Regions from separate parts of the Homo sapiens genome. Here region 1 is linked to region 2. Evidence: promoter capture Hi-C in 16 types of primary human blood cells and fetal thymus (Javierre and others, 2016). All regions are on one chromosome and are shown on one strand. The core of a region is centred on a gene start or on the middle of the fragment in contact, and the rest is flanking DNA. Distances in the headings are between cores, read along the strand shown. Region 1 holds the start of PCGF3 (polycomb group ring finger 3). Region 2 holds the start of SLC26A1 (solute carrier family 26 member 1).

The links. The method cuts DNA at HindIII sites, captures the fragments that hold promoters and counts their contacts. A CHiCAGO score of 5 or more calls a contact.
Region 1: the fragment with the promoter of PCGF3 here is called in contact with the fragment with the promoter of SLC26A1 in region 2 in 1 of 17 cell types (naive CD8 T cells); the score reaches 5.7 in naive CD8 T cells.

Annotation. Positions count from the first base shown.
Region 1 is chr4:703,352-707,979 of GRCh38, reverse strand. It overlaps PCGF3 (polycomb group ring finger 3), which reads right to left and starts at 2,148. Exons shown (of 11, transcript NM_006315.7): 1 at 2,010-2,148. RefSeq lists enhancers at 390-1,374, 1,375-2,360, 3,401-4,128 and a silencer at 1,726-2,425. The HindIII fragment of the contact is 21,581 bases long and covers 1-4,246 here.
Region 2 is chr4:992,070-996,784 of GRCh38, reverse strand. It overlaps SLC26A1 (solute carrier family 26 member 1), which reads left to right and starts at 3,381. Exons shown (of 3, transcript NM_022042.4): 1 at 3,381-3,484. All of the region lies in intron 2 of IDUA (alpha-L-iduronidase), which reads right to left. RefSeq lists enhancers at 2,421-3,232, 3,233-4,044. The HindIII fragment of the contact is 37,873 bases long and covers 1-4,384 here.

The DNA.
Region 1 (4,628 bases), core at 899-3,398, 290 kb after region 2:
GGAAAACAGGGCTGTCCCAGGGTCCCGGCCCCCAGGGGAAAACAGGGCTGTCCCAGGGTCCCGACCCCCAGGGGAAAACAGGGCTGTCTCAGGGTCCCGACCCCCAGGTGAAAACAGGGCTGTCCCAGGGTCCCGACCCCCAGGGGAAAACAGGGCTGTCCCAGGGTCCCGGCCCCCAGGGGAAAACAGAGCTGTCCCAGGGTCCCGGCCCCCAGGTGAAAACAGAGCTGTCTCAGGGTCCCGGCCCCCAGGTGAAAACAGAGCTGTCTCAGGGTCCCGGCCCCCAGGGGAAAACAGAGCTGTCCCAGGGTCCCGACCCCCAGGGGAAAACAGGGCTGTCCCAGGGTCCCGACCCCCAGGGGAAAACAGAGCTGTCCCAGAGTCCCGACCCCCAGGGGAAAACAGAGCTGTCCCAGGGTCCCGACCCCCAGGGGAAAACAGGGCTGTCCCAGGGTCCCGGCCCCCGGGTGAAAACAGGCTGTCCCAGGGTCCCGGCCCCCAGGGGAAAACAGGGCTGTCTCAGGGTCCCGGGGGAGACGGGGCAGTCTCAGGGTCCCAGCAGTGCTCACAGGACTCACAAGACTGCTCCAGGGTCAGGTCCTCCTGAATTATGGTCATGGGGTCCTGGCCCTCGTCTGTGACCCACTTTAAGGCAGGACCTTCCTGGGGGATCTATTCTGGGGTCCTGGCATTCTTTGGATTCTGCCTGGTCCCTACGTCTGGCCCTCCTCCGTGATTCTTCCCAGGGTCCTAGCCCCCCCGGGCCCTGCCAGGTGGCCAGGTCCGACCCTCCTTGGTGACCCATCTTGGGGTCCCAGCCCTTCTCGGTGACCTGTCCCAGGGTCAGACCCTCCTGGATGATGTGTCATTGTGTCCTAGCACTCTGGGGGTCCTGTGCAATCCCAGAGCCCAACTCTCTTCAGGTCCTGCCTGGTCTGAAGACCCAGCCCTCCCGGGGTCCTGCCTGGGCTGGGGTCGCGACCTTCCCAGGGTCCTGCCTGGGCTGGGGTCCCTACCCTCCCGCGGTCCTGCCTGGGCTGGGGTCTTTGCCCTCACCTGGGTCCTGCCTGGTCTGGGGTCTTCGCCCTCCCTGGGTCCTGCCTGGGCTGGGGTCGCGACCTTCCCAGGGTCCTGCCTGGTCTGGGGTCCCTGCCCTCCCGCGGTCCTGCCTGGGCTGGGGTCTTCGCCCTCACCTGGGTCCTGCCTGGTCTGGGGTCTTCGCCCTCCCTGGGTCCTGCCTGGGCTGGGGTCGCGACCTTCCCAGGGTCCTGCCTGGTCTGGGGTCCCTGCCCTCCCGCGGTCCTGCCTGGGCTGGGGTCTTCGCCCTCCCTGGGTCCTGCCTGGTCTGGGGTCTTGGCCCTCCCGGGGTCCTGCCTGGTCTGGGGTCCCTGCCCTCCCGCGGTCCTGCCTGGGCTGGGGTCTTCGCCCTCCCTGGGTCCTGCCTGGTCTGGGGTCTTGGCCCTCCCGGGGTCCTGCCTGGTCTGGGGTCTTGGCCCTCCCTGTTCTGGGGTCTTTGCCCTCCCTGGGTCCTGCCTGGGCTGGGGTCTTCGACCTCCCGGAGTCCTGCCTGGGCTGGGGTCTTGCCCTCCCTGCGTCCTGCCTGGACTGGGGTCTTGCCCTCCCTGCGTCCTGCCTGGGCTGCTGTCCCAGCCCTCCCTGGGTCCTGCCTGGGCTGGGGTCTTCGACCTCCCGGAGTCCTGCCTGGGCTGGGGTCTTGCCCTCCCTGCGTCCTGCCTAGGCTGGAGTCCCAGCCCTCCCGGGGTCCTGCCTGGGCTGGGCTCTTGGCCCTCCCGGAGTCCTGCCTGGGCTGGGGTCTTCGACCTCCCGGAGTCCTGACTGGGCTGGGGTGCCGGCCCTCCCGGGCCTGCCAAGGGCTTCCCGGGCCAGGCCGACGGGGACGACGGAGCGCGGGCCCGGGGTTCGGAGCCTTCCGGGCCGGACACGGGCCGAGGCCGCAGCCTGAGGAGCGGGCGCCGAGGGCCCAGGCCAGGCGGGGCGGACTCACTGACCTGCGGTCTCGGGGCTGCGGGCGAGCAAGGCGCACGCGGGGTCCGCGCCGGAGGGGGGAGGGGGCGCCGCTCCCTCTGGGTCCCCCCCAAGAGGAGGAGAAAAAAGCCCGTCCGGAGTTTAAAACAAAGAGGCGGAAATGCCCGAGCCGAGCCGAGCGCCGCGTCGGGGGCGCCGCGCTCGGAGCATGCGCGGTGTGCGTCTGGGCTCCCACCCCGCGGCAAGGGGCGTGGGCGGGGCCAGGCGGTAAGGGGTGGGGATAGGGGCGGGGAGGGGCGTGTTCAGAGGGCGCAGGCGCGTCGGGCCTGGACTCGGCGGAGGGAGCCGCGGGGCGCGAGGGCCAGGGGCGAGGCATAGGGCGGGGCCATGAGGGGCGTGGTCAGGAGAGCGACAGGGCCGCGCTGTGCTGAGGGACCCGACGGGTCCTGGACGATCGTGAGCTGGGGCGCTGGAGCAGCAGAGTCCTCAGGCCCGGGTCCCTCCGGGGGTGCCGTCCAGTACGGGTGCTGCTGTCCTTTGTGGGAGCCGGGACTGAGCGCCCTCCCGGCAGGGTTAAGGGTCGGTGTTAGGGTCAGGGGTCGGGTTAGGGGTCAGAGTCAGGGTTAGGGTTGGGTTTAGGTTTAGGGTCAGGGTTAGGGGTTAGAGTCAGGGTTAGGACTGGGTTTAGGGCTAGGGTCAGCATTAGGGGTTAGGGTTAGGGTTGGGTTTATGGTTAGGGTCAGGATTAGGGGTGGGGTCAGGGTCAGGGGTTAGGGTCTGGTCTAGGGTTAGGGTTGGGTTTAGGGTTAGGGTCAGGGTTAGGGTTAGGGTTGGGTTTTAGGGTTAGGGTCAGGGTTAGGGTTAGAGTCAGGGTTAGGACTGGATTTAGGGTTAGGGTCAGCATTAGGGGTTAGGGTTAGGGTTGGTTTTACGGTTAGGGTCAGGATTAGGGGTAGGGTCAGAGTTAGGGGTTAGGTTTAGGGTTAGGGTTGGGTTTAGGGTTAGGGTCAGGATTAGGGGTGGGGTCAGGGTCAGGGGTTCGGGTCTGGTCATGTTTAGGCTTGTATTTAGGTTATGTTCAGCATCAGGACGGACAGGGCACCCACGTGCGGACTCTCCGACCTGGGTGCCCTCCGCCAGGGTGGAGCAGTACGGGCGGCATTTGCGCCTTCGTGGGACTGGCACTGTCCTGAGAGGGCGGGATCCGAGGACCGAGGGCGCGTGCGGGGGTGAGGCGGACGTGCAGGCACGCGGGGTCCTAGGGTCTCCCGGTTTGCGGGTTCTGGGCTGGCGGCCCAGGACGGGAGGGCAGGTTGGGTCTTGGGTGGGAAGCGAGACCACTGTGGTTCCGGGCGGCGGGGCACCGCGCAGTGTGGAGGCTTGGTGGCGAGAGGGGAGGCCCCGTAGGCCCAGGGGCACTCGCTGCGAGGCTGTGCGGTGCAGGCATGGAGCAGGAGTCGGGAGTCATTAGCTCGTCCCGTCTGGAGAGGTGGTGGCTGAGGGAGTGACCCTGCGACTGTCCCCGTGAAGTCTAGAGTTGGACCCCGGGAGCAGCCACCAGGCAGGGGGCCCCGGGCCCAGGTATGGTGCAGCACGTGGGGAAGCGGCTTGAGTCCGCTGCTGAGAGGGGCCTGAGAAGGGCTGGGGGCCTGCTGAGATCTCCAGCACTGGGTGGACACGTTATCCGGGTGGGAGGAGGACAGACAGCAGACATGTGAATGTGTACAGCATTCCCAGGCATGCTGCTGTGAAGGGGAGGGACTAAATGTGGCCACTGCTGCCCCCGGGGGAGGGGAGGCAGGGAGGGCTCCGTGGAGCCATGGGGTGGCCCAGTGCAGGGGAGGGGCCCACTGGAGAGGGCTGCCTGGGATTGGGGTACTGGGGTGCTGGCCCTCCACAAGAGCCCTGACTGCAGTTTTCAGTTGGTGGAGGCAGGCCCCAGATGTGGAGGGGAGGACTGGAGGATCATCCCAGAAGGAGGGCAGGGGCAAGGTATTGGTGCTGGGGTGCAAGGGGCAGGGGGTGGCCAGCAGGCCAGGAACAGTCCTGGGCTGAGTGTGGTGGCCTCAGGAAGAGGCAGAGTGGTAAGCTGCAGTTCAGAACTCACTCCAGGCCCCAGGCCCCTCCTCAAGGAGGTGCAGACCCTACCCCTAGGCTTCCCACTACTCTCCTGGGTGGGTGCCAGCGGTGCCCGGACCTTGACTCTGAGCCCTGGGCTCTTGTGTCCAGCTCTGTTTCTGCTGAATGTCATTAGGAAGCTTAAATGCCACATGGCCGGATGGCTTCCCCAGGCCATCCTGAGTCTGCTGTGTACCCCAGGACCCCCCACCCCCCACCGCCAGTCCTGAGGCAAGACCCCAGAGTCCTCTGCACCCTCTTCCTCTCATGCCCAAACTGGCCATCCATGGCCCATCGGCAGCCAGCCAGGTCTCCCACCTGCACCCTCCTGGGACCTCACTCAGCCAAGGCCCGAGGGTGGAGGCATCGGGGCCAAAGAAGCCTAGGGTGTTGGCAGTGTGTGCTGTCCTGGTGTGAGTTCGGGGTGTGCACATATTACATACAGGCACGTATTCCTTAGCAGAGCTGTAAAGAAGGGAGGCAGGAATCATGGCACAAGCAGACTGGAGTAGAGGGGAGGCCCC
Region 2 (4,715 bases), core at 2,132-4,631:
GCCTGGCCACAGGACAGCACCAGCCACTGCCTCAATGCTCAGAGAAACTGAGGCAGAGACACGTGGGAGGGGGCAGGTCAGGCCCCAAGGATCCTGCAGTGATGACCTCACCTACTTTAGACACCCAGCCTAGGTGGGGACTAAAAGGGCATAAGGCCCAATGCCTGCAGAAGACCTGAGGCCAGGCCCCTGCAGTGCGGCTGAGGCTGTTCCTGAACTACGCTCACCTGCCTAAAACCTCACCACAGGTCCCCATAAGCCAGCCTCTGGAAACCTCCACCACCTTTCCTGAGGGGGGAAGGGCCACCTCCCACTCCAGGTTTTTCTGTGGCCCCAGGTGGCACTGCCCACCCCACCCTGCATGCAGGCGTCTGCACCAGGTGCCCCACCCCTGCTGTAGCACCCAGGTCCTCCCTGCCTCCTTTAGGGAGACCTTGAGGGAACAACCCCAGCCCCCTGGGTCTCCCCAGTTCTCCAACAACCCTGCTGGTGGCTGCACCCAGAGGGGCCCTTATCTGTCCCAGGGAGGGACCTGAGGCCCTGCGTGACTGCCTTACCCCACCCACTGGCCAACCGCTTCTTACAGCACAGCTCCCAACTGCTGAGCAAACAGCTGCTTCCCAGGGACCACTGGGGCCCAGGTTGGGCTGGGGTGGAAGCAAGGGCTCAGACTCTGGAGGACAGGGCAGGGGCTTCGAGGAGAAATCAGACTTGGAGAGGGCATCCCAGGTGGAGGCTATGGGGGTATGAGACCCTGGAGCCTGTTCAGCTCTGCCCGAATCTCACACTCAGGGGTACGAGACCCCAGAGCGTTCAGCCCTGCCCGCATCTCACACTCTGGGGTACGAGACCCTGGAGCATTCAGCCCTGTCCACATCTCACACTTAGGATGTCTCCTACTCTCTGGCCATCCCAACTACATTCCACTCCCATTTCACCTCCAAATGGGGGCACTGCAGCCCAGTCTTCCCTGGGCTCACCCAGGGCTGTGGGGAACTAGCAGCGCTTGGCAGACGGCTTCCACAAGGAGGTACCTTTGGTGGGGTGAGTGTCCAGGGTCTCCTCCCTCCGGGGCTGTGCCCCATCAATGTCAGTGTCCTCGTCTTGGGGAAATGGAGCCCCGGCACATCAGCTGGTTCTGCGAGACCCTCGGCTTCAATCCCACATGGACAGGAGAAGTAGAGCCTGTGGCTTCTGTTCCCCGGACAGAGTCAGGCTGCCCAAGGTGCCAGGGCCGGGTTGGCCTTCCAGCCCCACCCGAGGGACCCACCGCAGCCTCCTGGCCTCCCTTGGGATGGGAGAGCACTGAGGGCTGCAGCCCCTCGTTACACTCACCCTCCGGCCACAGGTGCCCCGTGCAGGCTCCCACCCAGTACTCACTGTCAAAGTCGGGGGGACCTGAGGCTCCCAAGGAATTTTTTTTTTTTTTTTGAGACAGAACTGGCCGGGCACGGTGGCTCACGCCTGTAATCCCAGCACTTTGGGAGGCCGAGGCGGGTGGATCACAAGGTCAGGAGTTCAAGACTAGCCTGACCAACATAGTGAAACCCTGTCTCTACTAAAAATACAAAAATTAGCCGGGCGTGGTGGCACACGCCTGTAGTCCCAACTACTCAGGCGGCTGAGGCAGGAGAATCGCTTGAACCCGGGAGGCAGAGGCTGCAGTGAGCCGAGATTGTGCCACTGCACTCCAGCCTGGGCAACAGAGCGAGACTCCATCTCAAAAAAAAAAAAAAAAGACTTGTAGGCTGGAGTGAAGCGCTACAAACATACCTCACTGCAGCCTGGACCTCCAGGGCTCAAGCAATCCTCCTACCTTAGCTTCCCAAAGTGCTGGGCCAATGACAGCGTTTGTTTTTGAGACGGGCTCTTGCTCTGTGGCCTAGGATAGGGTGCAGTGGCCTAATCATACCTCATGGCAGCCTCAAACTCCTGGGCTCAAGCCATGCTCCCACCTGAGCCGCTTGAGTAGCTGGGATACAGGCACACACCACCACACCCAGCTAATTTTTTACTTTTAATTTTTTAAAGGTTGGGGGGCAGGGGGCGGCCGGGTGCAGTGGCTCAAGCCTGTAATCCCAGCACTTTGGGAGGCCGAGGTGGGTGGATCACGAGGTCAGGAGATCAAGACCATCCTGGCTAACATGGTGAAACCCCGTCTCTACTAAAAATACAAAAAATTAGCCGGGCGTGGTGGCGGGTGCCTGTAGTCCCAGCTACTCGGGAGGCTGAGGCAGGAGAATCACTTGAACCCGGGAGACAGAGCTTGCAGTGAGCCGAGATCATGCCACTGTACTCCAGCCTGGGCAACAGAGCGAAACTCCGTCTCAAAAAAAAAAAAATTAGCCGGGCGCGGTGGCGGGCGCCTGTAGTCCCAGCTACTCAGGAGGCTGAGGCAGGAGAATGGCGTGAACCCAGGAGGCAGAGCTTCCAGTGAGCCGAGATCACACCACTGCATTCCGGCCTGGGTGACAGAGCAAGACTCCGCCTCAAAAAAAAAAAAAGAAAAGGTGGGGGGCGTCTCACTATGTTGACCAGGCTGGTCTTGAACTGCTGGCCTTAAGCGATCCTCCTGTCTAGGCCTCCCAAAGTGTTGGAATTACAGGAGTGAACCATCGTGCCTGGCTAATAATTCCTTTTAAAAAGCAGCTTACCCTTATTTTCACGTGTGGGCCTAATTTAGTTCACTTAAAAAAATCATTTATCTTCACCCCAGCCCTATGAGGCAGGCACTGCCGGTCCTGGTCTGTGGTAGAGGGGAGGGCAGAGGAGCCGTGAGGGTGACCAGGCGCTGTGGGTCGGTGCTGGGTCCAGTCAGACCAGGACTCCTGGCCAGTCACGGCACCTTGACCCCGGCAGTCCTCGCCCTGGGCGGTGAGCACCACACACAGGGCTTACGCGAGCACACACGCATATGCACGCACCGGCAGCCTTGGGCTGAGCCGGCTGTCAGCCTCTGCCCTGCTCCAGCTTGGACCAGGCTGGCTCCTTGCAGGACCAGGAGGGTGTCCGGCGACTGGACACGGAGACCAAGCCTCCCTCAGCCCCGCCTGGGTTTGAAGGCTGCTGCACTCGACCCCAGACCCCAGAGCTGAAGGTTTACCTGTGCTCAGCCCCTGAGCCCCCGCCTCCCGCTGGTCCCTAAGCCCCCCCGGCAGGGCCGCAGAGCCACAGCTGCAGCGGCTCCTGGGAGGCTGGGAGCTCCTCAGAGGCCCACACAGCTCTAACTCCTACAAGCCCCTGATTACAGTTCAACTCCCGGATCAGCCGATCAGGTAACATGGCTGGAGAAACCCATGACTCAGCAATCTGTAGGTAAATAATTGAACTACAGAGTCCAGGGCACAGACCACTGCCTGCAGGTTGGCGCCACCACCCCCACTCTCCCCGCTGCTCGCGGGAGCCAGAGGGCCCTGCGGTCCTCGGTGGTCTTGCCAGCCCCTCGTCATCCCAGGGCCCTCCGCGCCTGTGAGGACTCCCTCAGGTAAGAACCATCCTGGGCCCAGATCTCAGCTGCAGCAGAGGGGGGCGTGGGAGCCGAGGCCAGAAATGCCCTGGACTCGTGGTTTCTTAGGGGCACCCTCAGGCTCAAGGCAGGTGGCCCTACTGTCCCCATTCCACACACCTGGACCCCAGGGGCTTGGGGTGGGCTTCAGGGCATCCAGGGACCCAGTGTGGTGGGGTCTTCCAGGGAAGGGGACACAACTCTTGCAATGTTGCCTGAGGGCCAGGACCCCCGCTCTGTGCCCCAGGGGTGCTGTGCCCAGCCTGCATGTGTCAACCTACCAGGCTGGGCTCACTGCCCCAACACACCCGCCAGGAGACTGGAGCTCGCACACCCTGGGCCAGCGTGCAAACAGCAGGCTCAGCCCAGGCTCCAGGGTGTCCTGGGCACCTGGTGTCCTGGGAGCAAAGTCTTTGCCTAACGTCGCTGAGAAGAATGTTTAAAGTGAAAGTACATTGGAGTCTGCAAACAGGACAGACCCGAGGCCTCACGTGGGACCAGTCAGGCCTCTAAGCACCGCCTCCCTAACGCCACGGTGTTTTCCGAGATCAAGGGAAAGGTCAGGTGCCCTTCCGGCTCTGCCGGCCCAGGGTGACTGTGTGCAGCGGGCTGGGCCCTCTCGGTGCTGCCTCGGGACAGTGTGTCATGGCCGTTCCACAGTGAGCTGGTGCAGCCTGGGAAAAAGGGCGCCTCACGTCCCAGAACTGTCTGGGCAGGGGAGACAGACGCCAGTCACCCTCCTCCCCTCCCAGCTGGCCCTGATGGGGCCCCCGTCCAGGCATATTCTCAGAATTCTGTCCCAAGTCCAGGCGGATGGGCTAGGCTAGTGTCTGAGTGCTGCTCCCCCAGCAGACTTGGGGTCCCAGTACCCACAAAGCTTGGCAGGGACATAGGAGGCCTCTTCCTGAGACTTCCGCCAGCCCCAGGACCCACAGGGCAGGTGACAGAGGGGTGGGTGGAGGTGTCTCCAGGAGAGCAGGCGATGGTTTGGATGGGGGAGGGAGGGCTCTGGTGTGGGCATGGGGTGGACAGCAGGACCGTTTGCCAACCTGGGGAGCCAGGGAGGTGGACACGGAGCAGCTGGACTCAGGCTTGCCTGCACCTGTGTCCAGTGACTGTGACATTCTGACGGTAGGCACATGTGCGTGGTGGCAGCCCAGCCTGTTCCTGCCCCGTTGGGGAGGTGAGCTTCAGGAGGCTACAGGGTGGT